Regions from separate parts of the Homo sapiens genome. Here region 2 is linked to region 1. Evidence: promoter capture Hi-C in human tissues and cell types (Jung and others, 2019). All regions are on one chromosome and are shown on one strand. The core of a region is centred on a gene start or on the middle of the fragment in contact, and the rest is flanking DNA. Distances in the headings are between cores, read along the strand shown.

Region 1 (6,224 bases), core at 2,783-5,282:
GTAGTGTGGCTATTATAACTACTGTGTTCAACAGCATATATGTTTGAAATAATTTTTTCAAAAAACTATGAAATAATTTGTGTGAAGAAAGAAAATGTAATAAGAATCCATAAATAATTCAGATGATAATTCATCAATAATTGGTTACTCTTCGTGTAGTCGGTTAATCTGAGTAAGCAATGAAGTTATAATCTCGTGGAATGTGTGATTCCTTCTTATATTGGGGCCACAGTCATTCAGCAAATAAAATTTTAGTATCTCTAAGTGTAATTTTGATACATCAATTAAAACCTAACATCAATATTTTATCTGTTCTAAAAAGTGAATGTTTTAAAGTTGTGATTAACAAGACCAAGTTTTTGTATCAAATATTTAATCATGTACTATATGCTGAAATAAGAGAGATCTACAAGTACCACTGGAATGAACATCATATAGATAATATAGTTTATTACTTTCATAAGCAATAACATTCATATTAATTTATATCTTCGTGATTTTTTGAAATCCAAAGAAAACAAAAATGCAGATGCACAAAAACACTTTAAGCTTATGTTCTGTATTTTATAAGGGAATTAGAAAAATTAAAAGCTTAAAAAAGAAAGTGGAATAAGAATTTAATTGGGAAAATGTTAATGACAGCCTAAAGCTGCACTAAAATTCTGAATAAAACATGGCTACTGCAACTGGACCAGGTTTCTTTATGAAGTTGTTTCTAATTCTAAGCTGCATATGTGCAGACACAAGTGATGTAGAATTTATGTGTTGGCCATGGTAAGTACACATTTTTTCTTGGATAGTCAGTTTTTTCTTAAAAATGTATAAAGAACTCTCACCTCATAATAAGTCATGAAAATTGACTGTTTTTCTTATCATTACATATTAGTATGATGCAATGCAGCATAACACATAAATAAACCACCTTTTAAAAACTTTAGCCTACTAAGATGGATTATAAAACATTAAGTGAAAATGAAATAAGAAATCTCCAAGTCAGGTAACTCTAAATGTTGGGTCATAAACAAGTTATATCTCCACTAAATTAATAAATATTCTGACCTCAGGACATTTTCCACAGGCCTGAGACACCTCAGAAGTCCAAACTCAATCACTAAACACACCCCCAATATACTTTAGCCATATGACTCTTAAGGAAACATAAAATCATTCCTACATCCCTATTTGCTCATTTTTCCCCCTGTGCAATCAATGATTTCTAAAAAGTAAAGACTTCATTGCTTTACTGTCTTTTGTAAAAACAAACAAACAAAAAACAACAAACAAACAAAAAACACCTCGTGGTAGTTCCCTTAGAGTCCTTCCTGGAAGCCAATTCAAGGAAGCCTGGACGGAGGCGTGACACTTGGACTGGGAAGGTGGTGTAATCTGTTGCGAATCACAGCAGGTTCTGAAGTGCTGGAGAACCCACGTGTGCAGGGGCTGGAGAACTTTTCCACCGTCTCCCAGAGGAAATGCCTCATTTTAAAATAGGGGGCTGGCTGGAGCAAGGGGTGGGGGTGAAGGGTGGGCGGTAAAAAAAGGCAGAGGCGAAGCTTTCAAACCGTTCACGCATGTCTACCTGTGCTTATTTTCCCTCTATTTCGCCTCCGATCAACTTTATTATTATTATTATTATTATTTTCCTTCTATAGGAGGACTTAAGCAACCAGGATGCTGAACATCTCATAGGCTCAGGCTGGAACAAAGAAAATCGAGTTCCTAATACTGTATCTCACCCGTTGGAGGGATCACGTGTCCTGCTTTCGCTGGAATGCACTCTTCTCGCCCACGCTATAAAAATCTCTATTGTGCTTAGAAATTTCGCCTAGGTTAGAATATGCTCACAAAAAATTGCTTTTCATCCACCAGGAGAGCCACATTTCGACATATACAGATACAAATCTATTTACCTGCTGACCCAGTTACCACTGCAGGTAAATTCGATGTGTTGAAAGAGTATTGGGAAAGTAATTGAAAAGAGCAGGGGGAGGACCCCTGTGTCTTACCGATCCCCACCCCCATCGCTTTTTTTTTTTTTTTTTTTTTTGTAATTCCTTTTGAAGGAGAACTTCGAAAGGAACGTGGGAGTCGCAGATGGTTCCTTTCTGAAGCCGATTCCTGGGAGTTGTGAAAGTGACCCCGTCTCTTCTCTGCCTCGAGCTGTGCCCTCTCGCCCAACCCGCTCGCTTTATGACTTGATGGGGAAGAGACAGCCAGAGAAGAGCCGGAGTAGAGGGCGGAGGCGGGTCCTTTATTCAGCCCTGATGGCCGAGAAGTAGTGTAAGGAAGCAATCTTTCAGCCATCTCCGTTATTATGAAGTCACACTATTTTAAAAGGCAATCTATACAGTCCCCCAACCCCCGCCCCCATTCTTGACTCTGCAAACAGTAAGATTAGAGACCACTGGTAGCCAATCTAATAGTCCACGAGCCAGGGTGCCATGATTACCTTAATGCTAATGTGCTTCCCTCCCTCTTTCCACGTCGAATCCGAAACACGTCCTGCATCCTTAATAACTCGGAGAGGAGGACGCAAGATCCTCAAGGGGACCCAGCGCTGGATTGGGAATAGGCAGGTTCACCAGCTTCTCGTGCCACACAAAGGAGATGTGTGGGCAGGAGTTGTCTAGCTGACAGGGAGGGAGGCAAGGTTCTCCCTGACTCCCAGGGAACACGCTCCCCCACTTCTTTCCGTCCTCCAGTCTTTCATGTTCCTTCGTCCCCTCCATCCCCCCAAACCCCACCCTTTCCCTTCAATCCCAATCACATAAAAATCTTCTAATTGTATTTTTTCAAACAGACATCGAGACATTGATACAACACCTTCCAAGATAAAGAGACAAGTGCGTCCTGCCACAAGTGTGTGTGAGTGTGTGTGTGTGTGTGTCACGATCAAACACGCGCTTCATCCCTCAGACACCTCTGGGAAAAAAGCTGACTGGAGATACCCAAGATAATAACGAGGAGCTAAACCTAATTTCAGCGGAACCAATGGTCCCAGCACCAGCGCCCAACATTTACCTTTCCTTTTCGCAGTATGTAACCCTTTAAGGTCTCTTGCCAGCTCAAGCTACTCGGTGCTCCCATGCACCCGCCCAGTTAGCACCCCATTTCCAAATGCTCTGCAACCTACCACATCTTCGCCGCCTCCCTCGGCCACCGCACAAGCAGCTCCCCGCGAGCGCCGAAGCCTCCCGCCCTGCCACCCCCGCCCCCGGCCGGCCTCTGGGGTCCCACACCTCGCGCGCCTACGGTCGCCGCGGCCGGGCCCCCGCAGCACCCTCCGCCACGGAGCGAGCGTGCCTTACTCACATCGCCGGCGGGAGAAACTGCCCATGAGGTTTCGGAGAGCGTAGTCGTGCAGCTGCCAAGGGTTATTCCTTAAGTGTTCAGGGGTCCGCAGTGGAGTGGGCGCCAGGGTCTTCGGAGGAGAAGAGGAGGGAAGGAGTAGAAGGTAGGAAGAACAGGAGATAGAGGGGAATCCAGGAAGGTGCCACGTTAGACCATGATGCCAGTGCCCTTCAGGTGGACGGCTGGAGAGGTTCCCGCGGGAAGCGGCTGAGGGGAAGCCCGAAGCGCCGGCGGGGGAGGCAGGAGCGCGTCCACTCCCCAGCCTCAGCCTGCCCAGCGCGCCGCGCTAGCGACCGCAGCAGCAGCGGCGGCGGCGGCGGCGGTGGCGGAGGCGCAGCTCCCTCCCCGCCCCCAGAAGGCTCCACAGACAATAAATCCTGGGCGGAGAAGAGACAAGCAGGAAAGGCGAATCCTGCACCCAACTCCGTAACAACCCCTGCCCGTTGCCGCGCCTGTGCAGGGCGAGGATCCCCAGGGGCCAGGGCGCAGCGGGCGTCTCGGAGGGGCTGAGCGCTCCGCAACTGCAGGAGGCGGTGGCGGTGGCCCGAGTGGGCGGCTGCAGGTCCCGCCGGCGAGAACCCGCTGCACTGGGGCTGGGTGTCCGTGGCTTCAAGCCCGGTGTTCACCCGGAGTAGGGTCCTCCTCGGTGCAGTGGCTCGGCGCACAGGTGCCAGGATTGGCAGGCGAGGAGGCGCCGCTCATGGCTCTTGGCTGTGTCTCACCGCTCTCCCCGCCCCCTCTCTTTTTTCCCACCCCCTTTTCCGACGACACCAGCTGCAGCTGCTTCAAAGTGTGAAAAATGTCAAGGAGATTTTCCAATGATAGGAGGGGGTAACCATGTTCACAACCCTCGGTCTCTTTTTGAGATCCTCGCCTGTCCCTCTGACCTCTACTCCGGCTCCCCCAAATTATGAGAAGAAAAATCCCAGTCCTGCACAGGATTGAAACGCTAGCCTTCTCCCGGCTCCGTCACGATAGGCTGCTTTTCGAGAACGGGACGAGAGGCCGAGCTCTCTGGGTTCCTCTCGCCTCCGTGGTGTTCGAGGCAGGTGGCACGAATCTCAGCGCGGGGCGGAGCGCGGCTGCCGGCTCCTCCCGCTCGCGGGCCAGCCCCGGGCGCTCGGGCAGCGCGGCGCGGCTTTCTGCAGCGCGGCCGCCTGAGCGGCAGAAGCGGCTCCCGGCCTGTGCGCCTGCCTGAGCGCCCCTGCACCCGCACTAGCTCAGTGACGCTGAGCTCGTGGCTCCTCAGGCTGCTGCTCCTGCTATCTCAGCAAAGAGGCGGCCGGGAGCGCCTCCTCGGGGTTTCCTCCCCCGCCCGCCTTGCCTGCTGCAGGTTGTTGGCTGCCAAGGAGAAAAGTCTCCGCTTGTGCGTCAGGTCGCTTCACATCAGTCATGGCAGCGAACCTTGTGCCTGCTCTTAAGTCCTCTCCTCATTCTGGGGTTGCGGCTGCTGCCCTGGGAGTGCACAAAAAGGGAAGGGTTTTCCCAACTTCCCTTCATATATTCACCGCCCCTCCTCCTGCCATGAACATTCTCTCTGACACACACACACACACACACACACACACACACACACACACACACTCTCTCTCTCTCTCTCATATGCTCCCTTACGTAAAGGCACACACACTTTCTTCTTATACGCTTCTCTAAAGTCCCAGAAGCAGCAAGACATATCAATGAAGCTAGTACTATATTTACACTTTTTTTTTTTTTTTTTGAAACGGAGTTTCGCTCTTGTTGACCAGGCTGGAGTACAATGGCGCGATCTCGGCTCACTGCAACCTCTTCCTCCCCGGTTCAAGCGATCTTCCTGCCTCAGCCTCCCGAGTAGCTGGGATTACAGGCGCGTGCCACCACGCCCGGATGATTTTTTTTGTATTTTTAGTAGAGACGGGGGTTTCACCATGTTGCCCAGGCTGGTCTCGAATTCCTGACCTCAGGTGATCCACCTGTCTCGGCCTCCCAAAATGCTGGGATTATAGACGTGAGCCACCGTTCCCAGCCTATATTTACACTTTTATTCTCTACACACATCTAATGAATTACATCTTTAAAAAAGGATATATTATGCTGGTATTCTTTTGTGGAATATAGGCTATGTGGTTTTTGTTTCTTCATTACAAGAGAGAAAGAATCTTGTCTTTAGTTCTCTAACCTCGAACACAGTCAAGACTGTGCACAGCATTCAAATGCCACTCTGGGGGTGTGTGTAAGCTCACAGTTTGCCAAAAGAAAACACACCTGATTGTATTCTTAGATTTGGAATGCTAAAGTCTTCAAGGTCAAAAATTATGTTTCCTGGCTGCTAGAAATTGTCTAGGAAGAGACTTGAGAGACTGGCACCTAATGTGCGGAGGACCTAGAGAGGAATTATTGCCCACTTTATCTGGGCCATGAAGGTGGGCTGACTTTTAAGGACAACTTGCCAGTGTTTCATATCATTTGCATATAGAAAGGAAAAGGAGTATATTTTGAAAAGCCAGATCGTTTTTTATATTGTTACAAAACACCAAAAGAAAGGGCTCTGAAAATGGCAAGGAAATGGAATAAAATTGTTAAAAGAATTTTTTTTGAATTGACTACTGTTGTGCTCTGTTTTTTTTTCACCTATAGTGTTGTCCTTTTAAACATTTTGCCACATCTCAATGTCTCTGCTGGATGAAGTGACATGAAATATTTTAGGTGCTGATTAAAAATGTATTGACAAAATAACCTGGCGCAACAATTACACAATTATAGCGGTCCTTTATGGGTTTCCAGTTCTTTTTAATACAGTCAACACAGTACTTTCACATATATTCTTTCATTTAATCCTTTCTTAAATCTAGGTGGTGGATAATCTAATCCACACTTACAGGAAGGGCACAAAG
Region 2 (6,224 bases), core at 2,189-4,688, 980 kb after region 1:
AACAAGTGACCTCCCTCCAACATTTAGGTTTTTTTTCTTCGTTTTCCTTATGATATGAAATCTCTGAGACAAGGCTTGTTTTTTCCTTTTCCCAGGACTATACTTACACAAGTTATTCTCCAACTCACATTAGGTAACAGCCTTGCTTCACAAATATAATACTTTCAGAACTATGCTATTTATAGTCCCTTGGCTTCAAAAGATATTTCCCCCTTCATTAATTCGTTTCTTTTGGTCCCAGCCCTCACCCTTTATAAGATGATGTGTAACAGGGACAAATCTTCCCCTGTGTTGCGTATGCTCCTGAGGAAGCTAACAGCCTGGAAAGCTATACTTCATACACTAAGGTGACGCCAGCCAAGCTCTGGCAAAGGAATGATTGAACATTCTCAGATTAATTTCATGGCTATTTGTTCCATCCCAGAATCACATCAAGCATGGGCCTCCAAGTTGAAATTGCATCACTTTGTCCTTGCTACCCAGGTAAGGGCAATGAAAAATGAGCATATTCCCCACCTTATAATGATAAATAATGACTTTTCCCTTCACAACTGATATGTATTTTACAACATCATCAGAGAAGTCTAATTACCAGACAAAATGATAAGATATATCAGGACACAAGGAGCCTAGATTAAACTCACAAGGAATAGGCATTTGCATTTTTGCCATCATTCATTGTCACTGCAGTAATAGGAAAATGGCAACCACAAGGTGCATAATGAATATAATGTTAAATATTCACTTGGATTGTAAATGACTTAAAAATTTAAACTACCCAGCAAAAGAATGTAAGAGAAGGGTACAAACGTGTTCGGCTGATAATAGAGAACTGACAAGCAGAGTTAGAGGGAAAAATAAAAGGAAGGTTTAGCATTAAACTGAATAAATAAATGCTGAGGGGCCCACAAGAACCGAAAGGGGTGCATTTGCTTTTAGGAATCTGACTGGGCAAATTTGGCTTTCACAAATTTTGATCTGTACTTGTTCAGGTAGACTAACATTATGTACTCTGCAATGGAGTCATTCTTATAATCACACTTTTTAAATTACAATAATATTACCATAAGCGTAAGTGTGGTTTTTAGCATTTGGAGGTTTTCCTGATTGTGAACTTCTTTCTTGTTTTAGGCCTGCATGGCTCATTGAGCTGGGTACTGAATCGAGATTTTGAGCACTGCAGATTCTTGTTTATTGAGATTAGACTAGTCATTCCAGTATCAGTAAAATAGAAACAGCAATAATAACTTGTCATACAGGGAGCAGTGGCCAAAAGAAATTAAAAAGAAGGTTGAAAGCATGGGGTACAGAACAGGAATCAACATTCAGTGAGTACCTGCCAAGAACCAGGCACCATCTAAGTACAAAGCAAGTCACATACAAAATCTTATCTTATTCCACAACAATACTGCCTGGTTGGTCTTAGTATAACCCATTTTGTGAATGAGGAAAATGAAATTCAGAGCAGTTAAGTAACTTGCCAAAAGTCACACTGTAGGAAAGAGGTAGAACATGAATTTGAACCCAAGTCTATGTAAACCCACAGGCTTTATTATTTTATTCTTTTCATTACCCTGTACGGTCTTATTGGCCTATGTGAGAGCCATTATAGACCATAATTTTAAAATATAGATGCTACAGGCAGGTTCAGGTTATGTTTTGTATACCCAGTGTGTCTTAAAGTATCTGGAATATAGTATGTACCCAGTGAATACTTGTGGAGATAAGGAAAAAGATAACCAATCTGGCACTCAATATTAAACTATTTCTGGTAAAACTACATAAAAAACAAAGTTCATTTTCAAAAAGTAAAATTAACCACAATACAAAATGAATACATGTGCCAAGGATTTTATTTAATTCATTAAATAATGAGGGAACCAATAAGATGTTACAAATGGCAAAAGGGTAACTGAAAGAACTACACATATGTAGCACATAAGGGATGGTGAAATACATTTGCTGAATGATGAAAACCCAGTTAATACTCATAGAGAAAGTATCAGCTGCATTTCCAGGGGATATAATTTGTATTTCCACAGACAAGAAATCATTTGCATTTCTATCTGTATTATCAACCTTATAGAGTTGTGAAATAGCTTAAAGACAATAAAAACACTGGACGGAATACCTAATAGTCTTTTCTCCCCCATTTCAATCTTTCACAAATTTTTCTGACAAATTAAGATAAAAAATTGTAATACAGAAACAAGAATACCTTCCGTTTTACAAAATAGTATCCCAAAGGTTTAACTCAAAGAATAGCAATGTTTTTCTCTTTATTACTTTTAACTTGTTAGAAACCATTGATGACCTACGAAACAAAAATACTTATCATCTAAATTTCCTGTGAGACTAGAAGACTTCTAAGATACCATAAAATCAAATATTTTTTCTAAAAATTTTAATATGCAAAATTTAAGCAGCAGAGAATTCTAATGCCAGAACTAAAACCAGAATTCTGCTGGCTGCCCCTGCTAAATATCCATGCTCCCACTGCCATATTCAACCGTTGACAAATAGAGCAAATAAAGGTCATATATGCTTCTATGTTTGCTGATTGGAGCCTGTCATCTTTAACTTTTTTGTTTGTTTGTTTTGGTATATTGCTATACTTATCTTTCTTTTTTTTTCTTAACATCTCTCTCCCTCTCTTTCTACAGAGCTTATGTAGGCTGCTGAGGTCTATATTTCTAAAACTGGAATTTAGAACAAACATATGAATTACAAAGAAATATGCTTTATCAGTGATGTTTCAGGAATGCACAACATCCAGAGATTTAGATGTATCTGTACTGTTACCTTAGAGCCTGAAGTTAATGCCCAAGTTTTAAAACCACTTAATTCTTAAAGATCATTGCCACTGGCTGACAACTTGTTTTCACATCATTTCCTGTATGGATGGTGCATTAATCTCCCTGTCCATACATATTTCCTTGTCCAAAGATCAACATTGCATACTCTAGGTAGTGCATTACATCTTTCGAAATTACTTAGCAATTTGTTGCTGGAGAATGATTAACAAACATCAGAAAATATCTCCTCTGGGTTCAGGACATATATGATAAATAAAAAACCTGGTTAAGCATGGGATAAAATTCACATACTTAGCATGAATTTTGGTGCTAAGTTGGTCTACTGTGGCTTTCTAGCTGAGACACAGGAATTATGTAGGTGATAAAAAAAATCCCAAAATTATGGAAGGAGCTTCTGTTCATCTGTAGTCTAGAAAGGGACAAACCATGGCCAGCACACGTCAGCACAACTCTAACAGTTATGCATGGGTGGCAATTTAAGGGCATTTGTAGCAGCTGCTAGAGTGCTTCCCGTCCAGGATTTTGTTATGCTGGTTTTGAAAAGACACTATCAAACTTTATGCCAGCTATTACATTAGGCTGTTGGCAGCAGAAAGTTTATTCTGTCCTAGAAAATAGTAGGAGCACAATAGAAAGAGGCTCTTCTCCTCATTTCACCACAGTGCCCTCCTCAGCACATCTCCAGCTTTGTTGATGGAAGTTTATCCAGATTGTTGGGAGAAAGCTACTTCAAGAGTGTTTTGACTATACACAATAAATGGAAACAGTGATATTCTGAATAACTGAAAACCTGGAAAAGAAATCATAGGAACATTATTTTTATTTCCATAAAATTTATATCCAGGAGGTGCCGAAAAAGGATTTAAGATGATTCAAAATTCATTCAACTATCATTGGGCTAATTATAAACATGATATAATCTCCCCATGAAGAATTTAGTAGAAAGGTCAAAAACTAAAGTACCAAGGGAAGGAAGAGAAAGGAGTGATTAATTCTTCTCAGAAATAGTCCTAGAGGGCTTCACAAAATTAATCTGAACCTGGAAGTATACATTTAAAGACAAAGAGGAAGAAAATCATTTCCAAATGTCTCCTTGAAGGGCATACTGAGGGAATTAAATGTAGTTAGCTGTGTTGAGAAAAAGGGTACTTGATAAAGAGCAGGAGAAAGGGAAGCTGAAAAACAATGGGGCATATAATGCCTCAAATCAAAACAGCAGTATCATAAAGGGCATTGAATACCATGATAAAGGCTTTATACTTGACCTCTTGGTGACAGGGAGACACGAAGTGTAGAAAAACAGGTGCGGTATCCAGAAATCAGGTACAGAAAAGATTTCTTTTTTTTTTCAAATTGTAGTATTCATTTATTTTTAATGGTTTTTTTTATTATTATTATACTTTAAATTCTGAGATACATGTGCAAAATGTGCAGGTTTGTTACATAGGTATACATGTGCCATGGTGGTTTGCTGCACCTATCAACCCGTCATCTGCATTAGGTGTTTCTCCTAATACTATCCCTCCCCTAGCCCTCCACCCCCTGACAGGCCCCAGTGTGTGATGTTCCCCTCTCTGTGTCCATGTGTTCTCATTGTTCAACTCTCACTTATGAGTGAGAACACGTGGTGTTTGGTTTTCTGTTCTTGTATTAGTTTGCCGAGAATGATGGTTTCTAGCTTCATCTATGTCCTTGCAAAGGACATAAACTCATCTTTTTTATGGCTGCATAGTATTCCATGGTGTATATGTGCCACATTTTCTTTATCCAATCTATCATTGATGGACATTTGGGTTGGTTCCAAGTCTTTGCTATTGTGAACAGTGCCACAGTAAACATATGTGTGCATGTGTCTTTATAGCAGCATGATTTATAAACCTTTGGGTATATACCCAGTAATGGGATTGCTGGGCCAAATGGTATTTCTTGTTCTAGATCCTTGAGGAATCGCCACACTGTCTTCCACAATGGTTGAACTAATTTACACTCTCACCAACAGTGTAAAAGCGTTCCTGTTTCTCCACATCCTCTCCAGCATCTGTTCTTTCCTGACTTTTTAATGATCGACATTCTAACTGGCGTGAGATGGTATCTCATTGTGGTTTTGATTTGCATTTCTCTAATGACCAGTGATGATAAGCTTTTCCTCATATATTTATTGGCCACATAAATGTCTTCTTTTGAGAAGTGTCTGTTCATATCCTTTGCCCACTTTTTGATGGGTTGTTTTTTTCTTGTAAATTTGTTCAAGTTCTTTGTAGATTCTGGATATTAGCTCTTTGTCATATGGATAGATTGCAAAAATTTTCTCCCATTCTGTAGGTTGTCTGTTCGCTCTGCTGATAGTTTCTTTTGCTGTGCAGAGGTCTTTAGTTTAATTATATCCCATTTGTCAATTTTGGCTTTTGTGCCATTGTTTTTGGTGTTTTAGTCATGAAGTCTTTGCCCATGCCCATGTCCTCAATTGTATCGCCTAGGTTTTCTTGTAGGGTTTTTATGGTTTTAGGTCTTAGGTTTAAGTCTTTAATCCATCTTGAGTTCATTTTTGTCTAAGGTGTAAGGAAGGGATCCAGTTTCAGTTTTCTCCATATGGCTAGCCATTTTTCCCAGCACCATTTATTAAATAGAGACACCTTTCCCCGTTACTTGTTTTTGTCAGGTTTGTCAAAGAAAAGATGGTTGTAGACGTGTGGTGTTATTTCTGAGGCCTCTGTTCTGTTCCATTGGTCAATATACCTGTTTCGGTACCAGTACCATGCTGTTTTGGTTACTGTAGCCTTGTAGTATAGTTTGAAGTCAGATAGCATGCTGCCTCCAGCTTTGTTCTTTTTGCTTAGGACTGTCTTGGCTATATGGGCTGTTTTTTGGCTCCATATGAAATGTAAAGTAGTTTTGTCTAATTCTGTGAGGAAAGTCAATGGTAGCTTGATGGGAGTAGCATTGAATCTATAAATTACTTTGGGCAGTACAGCCATTTTCACGATATTGGTTCTTCCTATCCATGAGCATGGAATATTTTTCCATTTGTTTGTGTCCTCTCTTATTTCCTTGAGCAGCAGTTTGTAGTTCTCCTTGAAGAGGTCCTTCACATCCCTTGTAAGTTGTATTCTTAGGTATTTTATTCTCTCTGAAGCAATTGTGAATGGCAGTTAACTCACGATTTGGCTCTCTGTCTATTATTGGTGTATAGGGATGCTTGTGATTTTTGCACATTAATTTTGTATCCTGAGACTTTGCTGAAGTTGCTTATCAGCTTAAGGAGATTTCGAGCTGAGACAATGGGATTTTCTAAATATATAATCAAGTCATCTGCAAGCAGAGGCAATTTGACTTCCTCTCTTCCTATTTGAATACTCTTTATTTCTTTCTCTTGCCTGATTGCCCTGGCCAGAACTTCCAATACTATAT

The links. Contacts are between HindIII fragments. The study calls those that stand out against the background at their distance.
Region 2: a fragment that was not itself captured here is called in contact with the fragment with the promoter of LRRC7 in region 1 in 1 of the 25 tissues and cell types used here (dorsolateral prefrontal cortex).

What each region holds. Positions count from the first base shown.
Region 1 is chr1:69,565,730-69,571,953 of GRCh38, reverse strand. LRRC7 (leucine rich repeat containing 7) reads right to left here and starts at 4,032. Exons shown (of 27, transcript NM_001370785.2): 1 at 3,313-4,032. The coding sequence starts at 3,314. It overlaps LOC105378789 (a long non-coding RNA gene), which reads right to left. Exons shown (of 12, transcript XR_947488.3): 12 at 6,104-6,224. RefSeq lists a silencer at 4,379-4,608. The HindIII fragment of the contact is 6,759 bases long and covers 1,073-6,224 here.
Region 2 is chr1:68,582,625-68,588,848 of GRCh38, reverse strand. No RefSeq gene overlaps it. Among named protein-coding and RNA genes, the nearest start is that of DEPDC1, 89 kb to the right of the region's middle. The HindIII fragment of the contact is 4,640 bases long and covers 1,119-5,758 here.